2 separate regions of the Homo sapiens genome follow, and region 2 is linked to region 1. The links are contacts of gene promoters, found by promoter capture Hi-C in blood cells and fetal thymus (Javierre and others, 2016). All regions are on one chromosome and are shown on one strand. Each heading gives the region's core, a stretch centred on a gene start or on the middle of the fragment in contact. The rest is flanking DNA. Distances are from core to core; before and after follow the strand shown. Region 1 holds the start of LRPPRC (leucine rich pentatricopeptide repeat containing). Region 2 overlaps MSH6 (mutS homolog 6).

What was found. Contacts are between HindIII fragments. The CHiCAGO score rates a contact against its expected background, and 5 or more counts as called.
Region 2: a fragment that was not itself captured here is called in contact with the fragment with the promoter of LRPPRC in region 1 in 1 of 17 cell types (fetal thymus); the score reaches 5.2 in fetal thymus.

The regions. Positions count from the first base shown.
Region 1 is chr2:43,991,288-43,997,808 of GRCh38, reverse strand. It overlaps LRPPRC (leucine rich pentatricopeptide repeat containing), which reads left to right and starts at 1,820. Exons shown (of 38, transcript NM_133259.4): 1 at 1,820-2,010. The coding sequence starts at 1,862. RefSeq lists enhancers at 1,543-1,822, 1,618-2,269 and a silencer at 1,923-2,242. The HindIII fragment of the contact is 4,663 bases long and covers 1,641-6,303 here.
Region 2 is chr2:47,784,749-47,790,777 of GRCh38, reverse strand. All of the region lies in intron 1 of MSH6 (mutS homolog 6), which reads right to left. Among named protein-coding and RNA genes, the nearest start is that of MSH6, 4.6 kb to the right of the region's middle. The HindIII fragment of the contact is 1,423 bases long and covers 3,214-4,636 here.

The DNA of each region.
Region 1 (6,521 bases), core at 571-3,070:
AGTGAGCCAAGATCGTGCCATTGCTCTCCAGCCTGGGTGACAGAGCAAGACCCTGTCTTGAGAAAAAAAAAAAAAAAGCAACTCCCCCCATGACACCCTCAATCCCTTTACCCTGGCGTATTTTGCATCACAGTTCTTTTTGTCTTCCCAAATTAAACTTTAAAGAGCTTAATTAGAATCTAGGGTTGGTTTGTTTTGTTCTCTGCTGTATTCCTAGGATTTCAAATAGTGTATGGCACTGGATATGTATTCAATAAATACGTGTTGAATAGGTGAATAACTTGTATTCCCAGTGCTCAGTAATATAACCCAGAGTCAATCAATTCACCTTGTTTCTTTTGGGGGCTTGGAGCGGGTGTCTTCGTTCCCTCATCTCTCAAAGGAGAGGTGAGCTAGGTCATCTCAAAATAGACATTAATTTAACACATATTTAATGAGACCTACTGTGTGTCTGGCACTGGGTAGGTGTATGGCCTACAATAAGAGATCACAGTCCCTACTGATAAGGAGTTCGTGGGATTAACTGATAAGGAGTCCAGTGGGATAAACAGTCACTTCGGAAATGACCGTGGGAGGGCTTCCAGAGGAAATACCCGCCGCGTTTGCCTCGTGATAGGTAGGGGACAGGCAGGTGTAGAGGGAGTGGAAGGCTGTTCTCAGCTTCCCACGTGTGCACAGGGAACCGATCCAGTCTGTAAGCCCTGTGAAGGCAGCGACGTGGTTTTTTTGTTTTGTTTTAGACAGAGTCTCGCTGTGTCACCCAGGCTGGAGTGCAATGGCGCCATCTTGGCTCACTGCAACCTCCACCTCTCGGGTTCAAGCAATTCTCCTGCCTCAGCCTCCCGAGTAGCTGAGATTACAGGCGCCCGCCACCACGCCCGGCTAATTTTTTGTATTTTTAGTACAGATGGGGTTTCACCATGTTGGCCAGGCTGGTCTCCAACTCCTGACCTCAGGTGATCCACCCGCCTCGGCCTTCCAAAGTGATGGGATTACAGGCGTGAGCCACTTCGCCAGCGATGGGTTTAACTTGCCAGTTTTCTCCCCATATTTGGCTGGAGACTCTTAATTACATTGTTCTTTTACTTCTCACATGTATATGTGCATTTACTGAAGGGAGAGGCGCGGTAGGGGTGGAGGGTTGGGGAAGAGAGTCAGTTCAATTCCAGCTTTAAAACTATAGGATTTTTGGTAGAATTCATTTATTTTCTAAAGCGAGGCCCCGCGTACGCGCTTAGGGTGGGGACCTGCGCGTTCCTTTACACTGTTCCCAGGCCCTGATAATCCACATCCTATCATGTTGAACCTGGGAGGCAAACGGCAAGGTGCAAAAGACCTCCACGGTTTCTCCGGCCCGCGTTTCTGAGAGTGAAGGGCCGTTCCTATTGGACATGGCGTCAGGGCTGAACGTTAGCAGCAACATCTGCACTCGGGGGCGGGGGAAACCTTCCCACGTCCTGGGATCTTCATAGTCGGCTCTCCTCGAGAGTTCTCGGTATTTTTACTAGTTGGCCTCCCACAAGCCTCTGCGCCAACCTGGGAGGAGTTGACCTCTTGCGGCTCTACCAACAGAGGAGTGCAGGGGTGCAGCGAATGAACACGATGCCCAGATCGGAGACGGAAGACGGAAAAGAAAAGCTTCGATAATGAATCAAGCAACATCGTTTATGTAAATATTACATTGGGTCTTCTGTCCTCGGAGAAGTGCGGTTTTCCATCTTCCAACCTAAAACAATCCGTCGCTCCCCCCACATTTGGCACGCCCGGCAGTTGGTCTCTGCCGCGCCAGGCTACCCTGCGGTCACATGCTCCTCCTGTCCTTCTGGCGGAGCGTGCTTCCCGCTGCGGGGACGTTCGAGCAATGGCAGCCCTGCTGAGATCCGCGCGTTGGTTGCTGCGTGCCGGGGCGGCCCCGCGCCTCCCGCTCTCCCTGCGCCTCCTCCCTGGCGGCCCGGGCCGGCTGCATGCCGCCTCCTATCTGCCCGCCGCTCGCGCCGGGCCCGTGGCCGGGTGAGTGCCCAGGCCCTTTCTCCAGGCAAGCTGCGGCGCCAGGGTCCCCCGGGGTCGTGGGTGCCGGCAGGGACCGGGTCCTGCCTGTGCTCGCCACCCTTCTCCCCGCCCCAGGACCTAGCCTCCCCGGGCTCCGCACCACGCTCCCTACCAGGGGTTTTCGGGTGACAGGGTTAAGCGCCTTCAGAAGGTCACGGCTGTGGGCATGGCCTGCCTCCGGCTTGAATCCTGCCCCCGCCACTTCAGCCTGGACCTTACTGCCCTCGGGGTACCCATGGTCAACGAAGATGAGGGGGGCTTTGAAGACTGCTTTGGGAAGTCGGGTGGTGGTCTTTTCCTTACACTTGGCCAGCTTGGGTGGTGTCCCACGTGCGGTCACCGTTGGTGATCAGTAACCACCTAGCATTTAGATATTGGAAATTTAGCTTTTTGCGAGGGATGGGGCGGCGAGGAGTGGGTTGGGAGTTTGGGTGAGCCACGGATGACTTAAAGCTGGACGCTGGATTATGATCACTTTGGGCTTTTGCCTGCGTTCTCTTGAATGGAGTTTTCCTTCAGCATTTAAGAAGGTGTTGCGCGAGTTGGGCTGGAGTGCAGTGGCGCGATCTCAGCTCACTGCAACTTCCGCTTCCCGGGTTCAAGCGATTCTCCTGCCTCAGCCTCCCGAGTAGCTGGGATTACAGGTGTGCGCCACCATGCCAGGCTAACTTTTGTACTTTTAGTAGAGACTGGGTTTCACCATGTTGGCCACGCTAGTCTCGAACTCCTGACTTCAAGCGATCCTCCTGCCTCGGCCTCCCAAAGTGCTGGGATTACAGGTGTGAGCCACCGCTCCCGTCCTGTAAGTGTCTTTGAATGAATGAGCACATGCAAGGCACTCTGTTGGAATCTGGGGATGCAAAGGCAAGTTAAACTCTAAGTGGGTGTCAGATAGGCGAATAAATGCTCTCATGGTTTGAGGTTTATCAGAGATAGGTTTGGTATAGACTTTTGTAGTGGAGGGGAAAAGAAAAGTTGGTGAAAGTGTTCATTTGGTTATTAATAGTATTCTGACCACCAGAGAAGGGGAGATAGGTGCTGAGCTTTTAGCATTGGAGAAAAAATGATTTTGAAAGACTGATGCTTGTAAATTAAGGTACTTTGAGAGCTCGCGTAAGGACTGAGAGCCAGGGATCTGCAGTAGGCTGGGCCCAGACTGCAGCCTACTCCAGATTTATCTGCATTTTATCCTCAAATTATCTGCATTATGCCATTAGAGAAGTTACTTAACATCTCCAGGCCTCAGCTTCCTTAGCTATAAGGTGGGAGTAGTAGTAGTGTTAGGAATATTGCAGAATTATCTGTATTAAGCACTTAGTATAGGGCCTGATGCCTAGTAAGTGCTTTGTTGGTTACTACAGGAGTCATAATATCTACGGTTATGCGGACCTTCATGGACCAGCCTGAACACCTAATCTCGCCATAAAATTACGTGGAGGAAATAATTTATGATTTCTTAACAACTTAGTTATAATCTTTGGAATGGAGCGTACTTGTAATTTGGAGTCTGCCTATATTTTCTTATTGGGCTTGAACAGTTAACTTTCCGAAATCATGCCTCTGAGCACAGAACTATATACATCTCTTGGCTTTCAGAGTTTCTTTTGAGAAAGTTGTGCCCATTACTCTTATTTTTCTAATCCTCAGCATTTCTGTGAGGCCAGGGGAAGGTCCACATTTTCTTTTATCTTCACTGTTGCATTTGAGGAGAACTGAATAAAGAGAGAACATAGTTTAGTAGAAAGGGTGGTCTCGGTGTTCATCAGACCTGGGTTCTGTTTACTTACTGCGTAATCTCAGCCATCTTACTAACCTGTCTGTTCCTCAGTTTCATTATCTGTAAAGGCCTTTCCCCCTTATCTTTGTAAAGTTGCTTTCTTATCATTCAGATCTCAAATGTCTCTTCAGGGAAGCCTTACCTCAACACTCAATCCAAAACATGCCGGTCCCACTGTAGATTTATTCGTGGCACACCTCACTTGTCTGATATCATTACTTATTTCTCTGGTTTTTTTTTTTTTCTTTAGTAGAAGGTAAGCTATATGAGAGCAGGACTTTGTCTTGTTCACCACTGTGTGTTCAGGTGACAGCAGGCAATAAAGAAGTGATTGTTCCCTCTTTTTCCTGGACTCTGAGCACTGTATATAGTCTCCTACCCGACATCCTGTAAGCATGCCCAGATCTTGCCCACGTGAAACACAGAACCTTTCCTGGAACTCTGTTTACTCTAGAAGTTTCTCAGTCTCTTCCCTGTCCATACTTCTCTGTCCCTTTAATTTCATCACTTTTCATTCACTTTCCTATCCACTGCAGTCACACCGCTGTCAAAGGCCATTATTATCTTATTGATTTTTTTATTGTATTTTTGAAAAATTATTTCAAAAGTGCCTTGAAGAACAGTTGCAAAAATTATTCCTTAAGGTGCCTCGAGGGACAGTTGCAAAACCTGGGTGGTGGGAACAATAAACTAAAAATCACCCTTAATTATGTCAACCAGAGAGCCATTCATTGATAGCTGTCCTTCTAATGACTTATGTATGTGTAAGATGTATGTTTATTTAACTTTTTGAAAGGACCTCTTTTAATTACCAAATCCACTTTTTAGGCCTTGACCTGGCATATTACTCTGTCTTCCATTTTCCCCTTCATGAGACACTTTTCTTGGTATTGATGACACCATTTTTCTAGGTTCTCTTCTCTTTAGGATTTGTCTCATTTGCTTGATTCCTCTTGCTTCTGTTCACCTATTAAATGCTGATGTTCTTGGTAGTTTTACTCGTGGTCCTTCTGTGTTTTCTCAACATTTTCATTCTCTTTTGTGACCTTTTCCATTTTTCAGGGCATTACTTACCTATCTGATGATGTTTCTCCCAGATATGGACCATCTACTACACATCCACCTGCTTGAACTATAGGTACTTCAGAGCCAACACAGCTCAAATTGGACCCCTCCTTCTTCTTTCATCTGTTCCTCTTGTGTTCCCTATTTTCGTGAATGTTGCTGTTTCTACCTGCCTTCCAGAAAGATCCTGGATATCTACATATTTGTTTTCCCATTCATCTCTCACTCCCTTCACCCCCCATTTATTGATTGCACAAATGATTAAGCCCTGTTAGATCTGCTTCATTTGGAATGCATCCCTTTTCCTCCAGCCCCTTCATCATTCCCTAGTCTCCCTGATAATTTGATCATGTCATTTTCCTGCTTACACTTAAGCATTGTGGTGGCTCCCATTGGGTCCAGAAGGAGATCCAGACTCTTTAGCACAGGTGCTTTATGAGCTGGAGTTGCCTCTGGAGCGTCAACTCTTCTGAGTTCCCTCCCATGGCATCCTGCGTTCTAGCCGTACCAGACTACTACTTTGAAGTGCTCTACAGCAGGGCTTCTCAAACTCTAGTGAGCATGATTGCCTGGGGCTCTCGTTAAACTGCAGATTCTGATTTTGTAGGTCTAGTGCTTGTCTGTGGATCTGTAAGGCTTTGATGGGCCATGTTGTATATTTCCTTGCCTTTGAGTGTAATGTTGACTCTTGGAATGTGTCTCCCCTTCCCCCTTAGTCAGGTGTCCCCCATCTCTGTTGAACCTTAACTTGACTGCCTCTCCCATTTGACTGGCTCCTTTCTTGTGCCTCCTCTTAGACCGTGTATCACTAAAGCACCCATTAACACTATGACGTGCACTCACCAACACTCTGGAGCTGGCTGTAAGTTGCTTGAAGGCAGATACTGTGTCTTACTCCTTTTGCTTTCCCTGGTGTTTAACTTTGTGGCATATAGTAGGTGTCAAATGTTTGTTGAGTGAATCAATGAAAATCTTAAGACATTGAAGAAGGAATATGGTAAACTGGAGGAGATTGAAGGGATGCTTAACCCACCCATGCAGTGCAGTGTGTCTACACAAATTCACCCTGAGCTTGATTTCCAGGAATGTCCTATTTGAGGACAAATGAGTATTAGTGAGTGAAATTATTAGACATTAGTAATCTGTTTTCAAAATTGTAGCACCAAGAAGTATATCCTTTTACTTTGTAATATGTGGTCTTGCTCTTCATTTTCCCATCTCAGTACATCTATTTTTCAAATAGATGCTTTCTGGAAAACCAGCTTTTACTCTGTTCTCTTTGAGGTGATAAATACTCTTGCTTTGTCACATACATTTTCCTTGCATTTCTGGATCAGAGCTGCTTTGTGTGTGTATTCTTTGTGTGATGGTTTTTAGCATAATACTTGTATACTTCAGAGGAAAGATAAGCTTTGAGCTCAATCTGTTTGGAAGTAGATCTAGACTAATGATTGGCCTAAAGGTGAAAATTACATATTGTTCTTTGATGGGATGGTGTGATTTTTATTTCTAAAGTTGGAAGAAAACTTTTAGAAAACTCTCATTTTAGAAAAATCTTCTGCAAATATTAAGAATCTGATGGGTCCGGCTGGGTACTATTGTTCACACCCATAATCCCAGCACTTTGGGA
Region 2 (6,029 bases), core at 2,676-5,175, 3.8 Mb before region 1:
CATTTAAAAAATGTATGCAAGCTGATATCATAATGCATATTTAACTATGAAGACAAACACAAATATAGTTATGTTATTAGGGTGAGAAACTTTCTCAGAATCAAAGTTTAAAAACCATGGCAGAATTTTGGTATAATGCTGATGGCAGGAAAAAGGCATGGACTCACTGTATATGCTCTCCAAATTAGTAGCACCTATACAATATGGTATGTACATATCAGAAACAGGATCTAACTCACAATATTATTATAAAGCATACTGATTACATAATTTACTAATTAGGTAAATTATCTAATTCATTAGACTTGCTTGGAATCTTTTTCCAGTTACACTCCTATGTATTCCAAAAGCTACCTAATACTCTATTACCCTCCCCCTACAAACTACGGAAAAACTCAAGTCAACAACTGAGGGCGTAACGTGCCTCCCCGGTTCAAGCGATTCTTGTGTCTCAGCCTCCTGAATAGCCAAGACTACAGGCACACGCCATCACACCTGGCTTATTTTTACCTTTTTTTTGTAGAGTCAGGGTTTTGCCATGTTGGCCAGGCTCGTCTTAAACTCCTGACCTCAAATGATTCACCCGCCTTGGCCTCTCAAAGTGCTGGGATTACAGGCGTGAGCCACCGCGCCTGGCCAAATAAAGTATTTTTAACATACAAGTTAAGCATTCTAGTTGTATTCCAAAGTAAATACAGTATGCTCAACAAACATATCCTTGGGTTCCAGTCCAGATTCAACCAACCTAGATTAAAAATTTTAAATCAAAAATTTAAAACCAATAAAAAACAGTGACCAGGTATGATGGCTCACACCTGTAATCCCAACACTTGGGGAGGCCGAGGCAGGACAGCTTGAGCCTGGGAGGTTAAAGGTGCAGTGAGCTGTGATCACTGTACTGTACTCCAGCCTGGGCAACAGAGCAAGACTCTGTCTCAAAAAAAAAGGAAAAAAAATACAAAATTTAAAATACAGCTGAACAACTAATTTCAAAGCATTTACATTCTATTAGGTATTGTACGTAATCTAGAGATAAAGTACAGGGGAAGATGTGTATAGGTTATATGCAAATACTACATCTCATAAGGGACTTGGACATCCAAGGATTTGGGTATTCACAGGGGGGTCCTGCAACCAATCCCCCTCAGATACAAAGGGAGGACTGTAACTTTAGTCTTAGAAAAGGGCTGTTACCTTAGAACTTTGTCATGTGTAAAATACAGTATAAATTGTTTTAAATGATGTATGAGGTCTCATGCTTTAAAAGATCATTAGAAAAGAATTATTTCATTTCTAAGCAAGCAATTAAAAAAATAATGTCTTCCATTTGTTTACAGGATAAATGTGCATCCTCACTAGGAAAAAAAAGTTTGTGTGAAAAGCTGGATCCAACCATTATCAGTTTTGAAATAAATTCCTTTCTGAAATAAAATATTAGAAACATAAGCATTTAAACAAAAAATTTTGTTTTTCAACATCATTTTATCCTTTATATACCATTACACTTACAGAATCTGACACATAATTTCTCTGCTGTTAAGAAATAGCAGTATGGGCCGGGTGCGGTGGCTCAGGTCTGTAATCCCAGCACTTTGGGAGGCCAAGGCAGGTGGATCACGAGGTCAGGAGTTCAAGACCAGCCTGGCCAAGATGGTGAAACCCCGTCTCTACCAAAAATACAAAAATTAGCCAAGTGCAGTGGCAGAGGCCTATAATCCCAGCTACTTGGGAGCCTGAAGCAGGAGAATCACTTGAACCCGGGCAGCAGAGGTTGCAGTGAGCCAAGAAAACGCCACTGCATTCCAGCCTGGACGACAGACTCCGTCTCACAAAAAAAAAAAAAAAAAAAAAAAAACAAAAAAAAAAAAAAGGAAGAAGAAAGAAAGAAAGAAATAGCAGTATGCTGGGCCGGGCGCAGTGGCTCACTCCTATAATCCCAGCATTTTGGGAGGACGAGGCAGGCAGATCACCTGAGGTCAGGAGTTCAAGACCAGCCTGGCCAACATGGCGAAACCCCATCTCTACTAAAAAAATACAAAAATTAGCTGGGCATGGTGGCAGGCGCCTGTAATCCCAGCTACTCGGGAGGCTGAAGCAGGAGACTCCCTTGAACCCGGGAGGTGGAGGTTGCAGTGAGCCCAGATCATGCCACTACACTCCAGCCTGGGTAACAGAGCAAGACTCCGTCTCAAAAAAAAAAAAAAAAAGAAAAAGAAAAAGAAAAAGGCTGGGCACGGTGGCTCACGCCTGTAATCCCAGCACTTTGAAAGGCCAAGGCGGGTTGATCACGAGGTCAGGAGTTCGAGACTGGCCTGGCCAACATGGTGAAACCCCATCTCTACTAAAAAAATAAAAATTAGCTGGGCATGGTGGCGGGCATCTGTAATCCCAGCTACTCGGGAGGCTGAAGCAGGAGAATCATTTGAACCTGGAAGGCAGAGGTTGCAGTAAGCCGAGATCGTGCCACTGCACTCCAGCCTGGGTGACAGGGCGAGACTCCATCTCAAAAAAAAAAAAAAAAAAAAAAAAAAGAAAGAAAGAATGAAAGAAAAGAAATAGCAGTAAGCTATAAAATGCTAAGACTAAAAATTTTACTAATATGCAGTTCCTCCAATGCTAAAAAGCTTGAAGAAAAAGAGTACCACTAAACATCCTGGACCCAGGAAACTGGTTTCTGAGTCAAAAAAGATAATTAAACAGGTAGTAAAATGTATTGTGTAACAAAACTAAAAATTTTAAACATTTCTCAAAATTTTTCTTCACTCACTGCTAACAAACCAAATTTTTTTTGTGTGTAAACCTGAATTCTTTAAAGGTAATTTTAAAATTTTATCCGTGGTAATCCTGCGGTTTTCAAGAATGCCAAAATAGGCCAGGTGTGGTGGCTCACACCTATGATCCCAGCACTTTGGGAGGATCTCTTAAGAGCCCAGGAATTCGAGACCATCTGGGCTACACAGTGAGACCTTGTTTCTACAAAAAAATTTAAAAATTAGCCAGGCATGGGGTGGTGTGCACTTGGGGTCCCAGCTACTCAGAAAGCTGAGGTGGGAGGATCACTTGAGCCGAATAGGTCGAGGGTGCAGTGAACCGAGATCTGCCACTGTACTTCAGCCTGGGCAACAAAGCAAAACACTGCCTGCCACCATTGCTCCTGCCCTCCAAAAACACCTTAAATTATGATTTTAGGATTTTGCAAGTGCTTTTAAAGCTTTAAGTGAGTCTTAAATGTCCGGTATTCTTGGGGTTTTTTAAGACGGTGGGGAAAAATGTTAAGAGGAAAAGCTGACAGCTCACAAAATAAATGTTAAAACTTTGATATAATAAGTAATGGCTTTGTCTAAACATACGCTAAACAGATCTTTTGAATTCTGGTTTAAAATCACATTATTTTTGCTTTCTCTTTAGCCCATAATTTTGATGTCAATTACTAGTTGTTCCTAAAATATATAATCAACATTTTCACCAACTTTTATTTTATTTTTTGGCAGACAGGGTCTGACTCTGCCACCCAGGCTGGAGTGCATGGCATGATCTCTTGGCTTACTGCAGCCTCAACCTCCTGGACTCAAGCGATCCTCCCATCTCAGTCTCCCAAGAAGCTGGGACTACAGGCACACGCCACCATGCCTGGCTAATTTTCTTATTTTTTGGAGAGACAGGGTCTAGCCATGTTGGCCTGCCTTGGCCTCCCAAAGTGTTGGGTTTACAGGCATGAGCCACTGCACCCAGCCTCCCTGTGGATTTCTTAAATAAAACCTATAGAAACACTAACCACAGAGAAAATAAAAGGACAAATTCCACATTATAATCAATAATTTGTTCATCGAAAGATGCCATAAGGCTGGGTGTGGTGGCTCACACTTGTAATCCCAACAGGTTGGGAGGCTGAAGTGGGAGGATCGCTTGAGAGCAAGAGTTCAACACCAGCCTGGGCAACAAAGTGAGACCTCTATTATTCAACAACAACAACAAAGCCATAAACTAAATGAAAGAACTCATTGTGAAAGAAGACATTTATATCACACACAAATGACAAAGAACTAGGAAAAAAAAAAGAAACAGCAAAAGACAAACACTTCAGCACAAGAAGAAATCTAAATGACAAACATTAAAAGATGCTCGGACAGACACGGTGGCTCACGGCCAGGTGCGGTGGTTCACGCCTGTAATCCCAACACTTTGGGAGGCTGAGGTGGGTGGATCACCTGAGGTCAGGAGTTCACGACTGGCCTGACCAACATGGTGAAACCCGTCTCTACTATAAACACAAAAATTAGCTGGGCGTGGTGGCAGGCACCTGTAATACCAGGTACTTGAGAGGATGAGGCAGGAGAATCGCTGGAACCCAGGAGGCGGAGGTTGCAGTGAGCTGAGACCACACCACTGCACTCCAGCTTGGGCAACAAGAGTGAAATTCCGTCTCAAAAAAAAAAAAAATACGCTCAACATGTTTTAAGGCTTAAATGATTCATGGAGTAAGTCCGAATGTCTCTGTAGCTCATCAGACTGTTCATGATTGGATCTCTGCTTAACTTCTCCAATGCTCCCTCCTCCTCCTTTCATCCTACCCACAATTTGCAGACCTTCCTCTTCCTGAACCAGCTTCCCACTCTCACTATAATCTGTCTAAGCTTATTTGTCCTTCTGGTTTCGGTTTACAGAGCTGAGAGCCTAGCCTGACCCGCATCCTCTCCGTCCCCTTTCCACTTGGAGTCTACAATTGCCTCTTTGCTTTGTCCTGTTCATGGTTGTATCCAGGATCCATAATGCCTAATGCTGTGCTCGGCAGAGTGATCTAGACACTGCAGTTTCTTTAGAAACCTAGTATCAAATGCCCATCTTTCTTGAATACCCTGGAATCCTCTCCATAACGGGAGGTGAAATGTATACGTTTTATTTTTACAAGTCTCTTAAACTCAACCTCAAGAAACAAATAACATACGCTATTCAATATGAATGTAAAGTACATCCTTACAATAAATACACCCGTTTGGTTTGGATTCAACAATCAATTCATGCTCAAGTAAACAATACGTCATGCTTTTCTAACCAGGAGTTTGTTATTGCGGATGCTGGCTCTGTTCCCCACAAGCATATTCTACTAATGCACAACTATATATATTTAAACTGCGGGAAAGGGTCGCTTAAACAAGGGTAACACTATAATTACACTTAGAAAAATCTCAGAATTCCTTTAGGACACTTTAAACTGGATTTAAATGGATTTGAAATCCATTACTCAAAACCACTAACTAGCGGCCGGGCACGGTGGCTCACACCTGTAATCCCAGCACTTTGGGAGGCTGAAGTGGGTGGACCACTTGAGGTCAGCAGTTTCAAGACCAGCCTGGCCAACATGGTGAAACTCCATGGTGAAAAATCAGCCGGACCGCGGTGGGCACACCCGTAATCCCAGCTACTCGGGAAGCTGAGGCAGGAGAATCACTTGAACCCGGCGGGCAGAGGTTGCAGTGAGCCGAGAAAGCGCCACAGCACTCCAGCCTGGGCGACAGAGCGAGACTCCATTTCAAAACAAAACCAAACAAAAAACACGAACTGGCTCTTATCTTGAATGAGTTATTTTTTCTGAGCCTTTATTTCTTCGTTTGTTCAAATAGCGACCATTAAACTTTGTGTTTAGTATCTGACAAACGGCCGGGCTCGGTGGTTCATGCCTGTAATCCCAGCACTTTGGTAGGCCAATGCGGGCCGATCAAGAGGTCAGGAGTTCGATACCAGCCTGGCCAACATAGTGAAACCCGTCTCTACTAAAAATACAAAAATTAGCCAGGCGTGGTGGGGCGCACCTGTAGTCCCAGCTACTTGGGAGGCTGAGGCAGGATAATCTCTTGATCCAGAGACAGAGGTTGTGGTGAGCCAAGAACGCGCCACTGCACTCTAGCCTGGACAAAAGAGCAAGACTCTGTCTCAAAATACATATATATGTATCTGGCAAACAGCAAAAGCAAGCTTTTCAAAATGTCGCCAGCTGCCCGGATAAAAAGCCCTAAACAGACCGGGCGCGG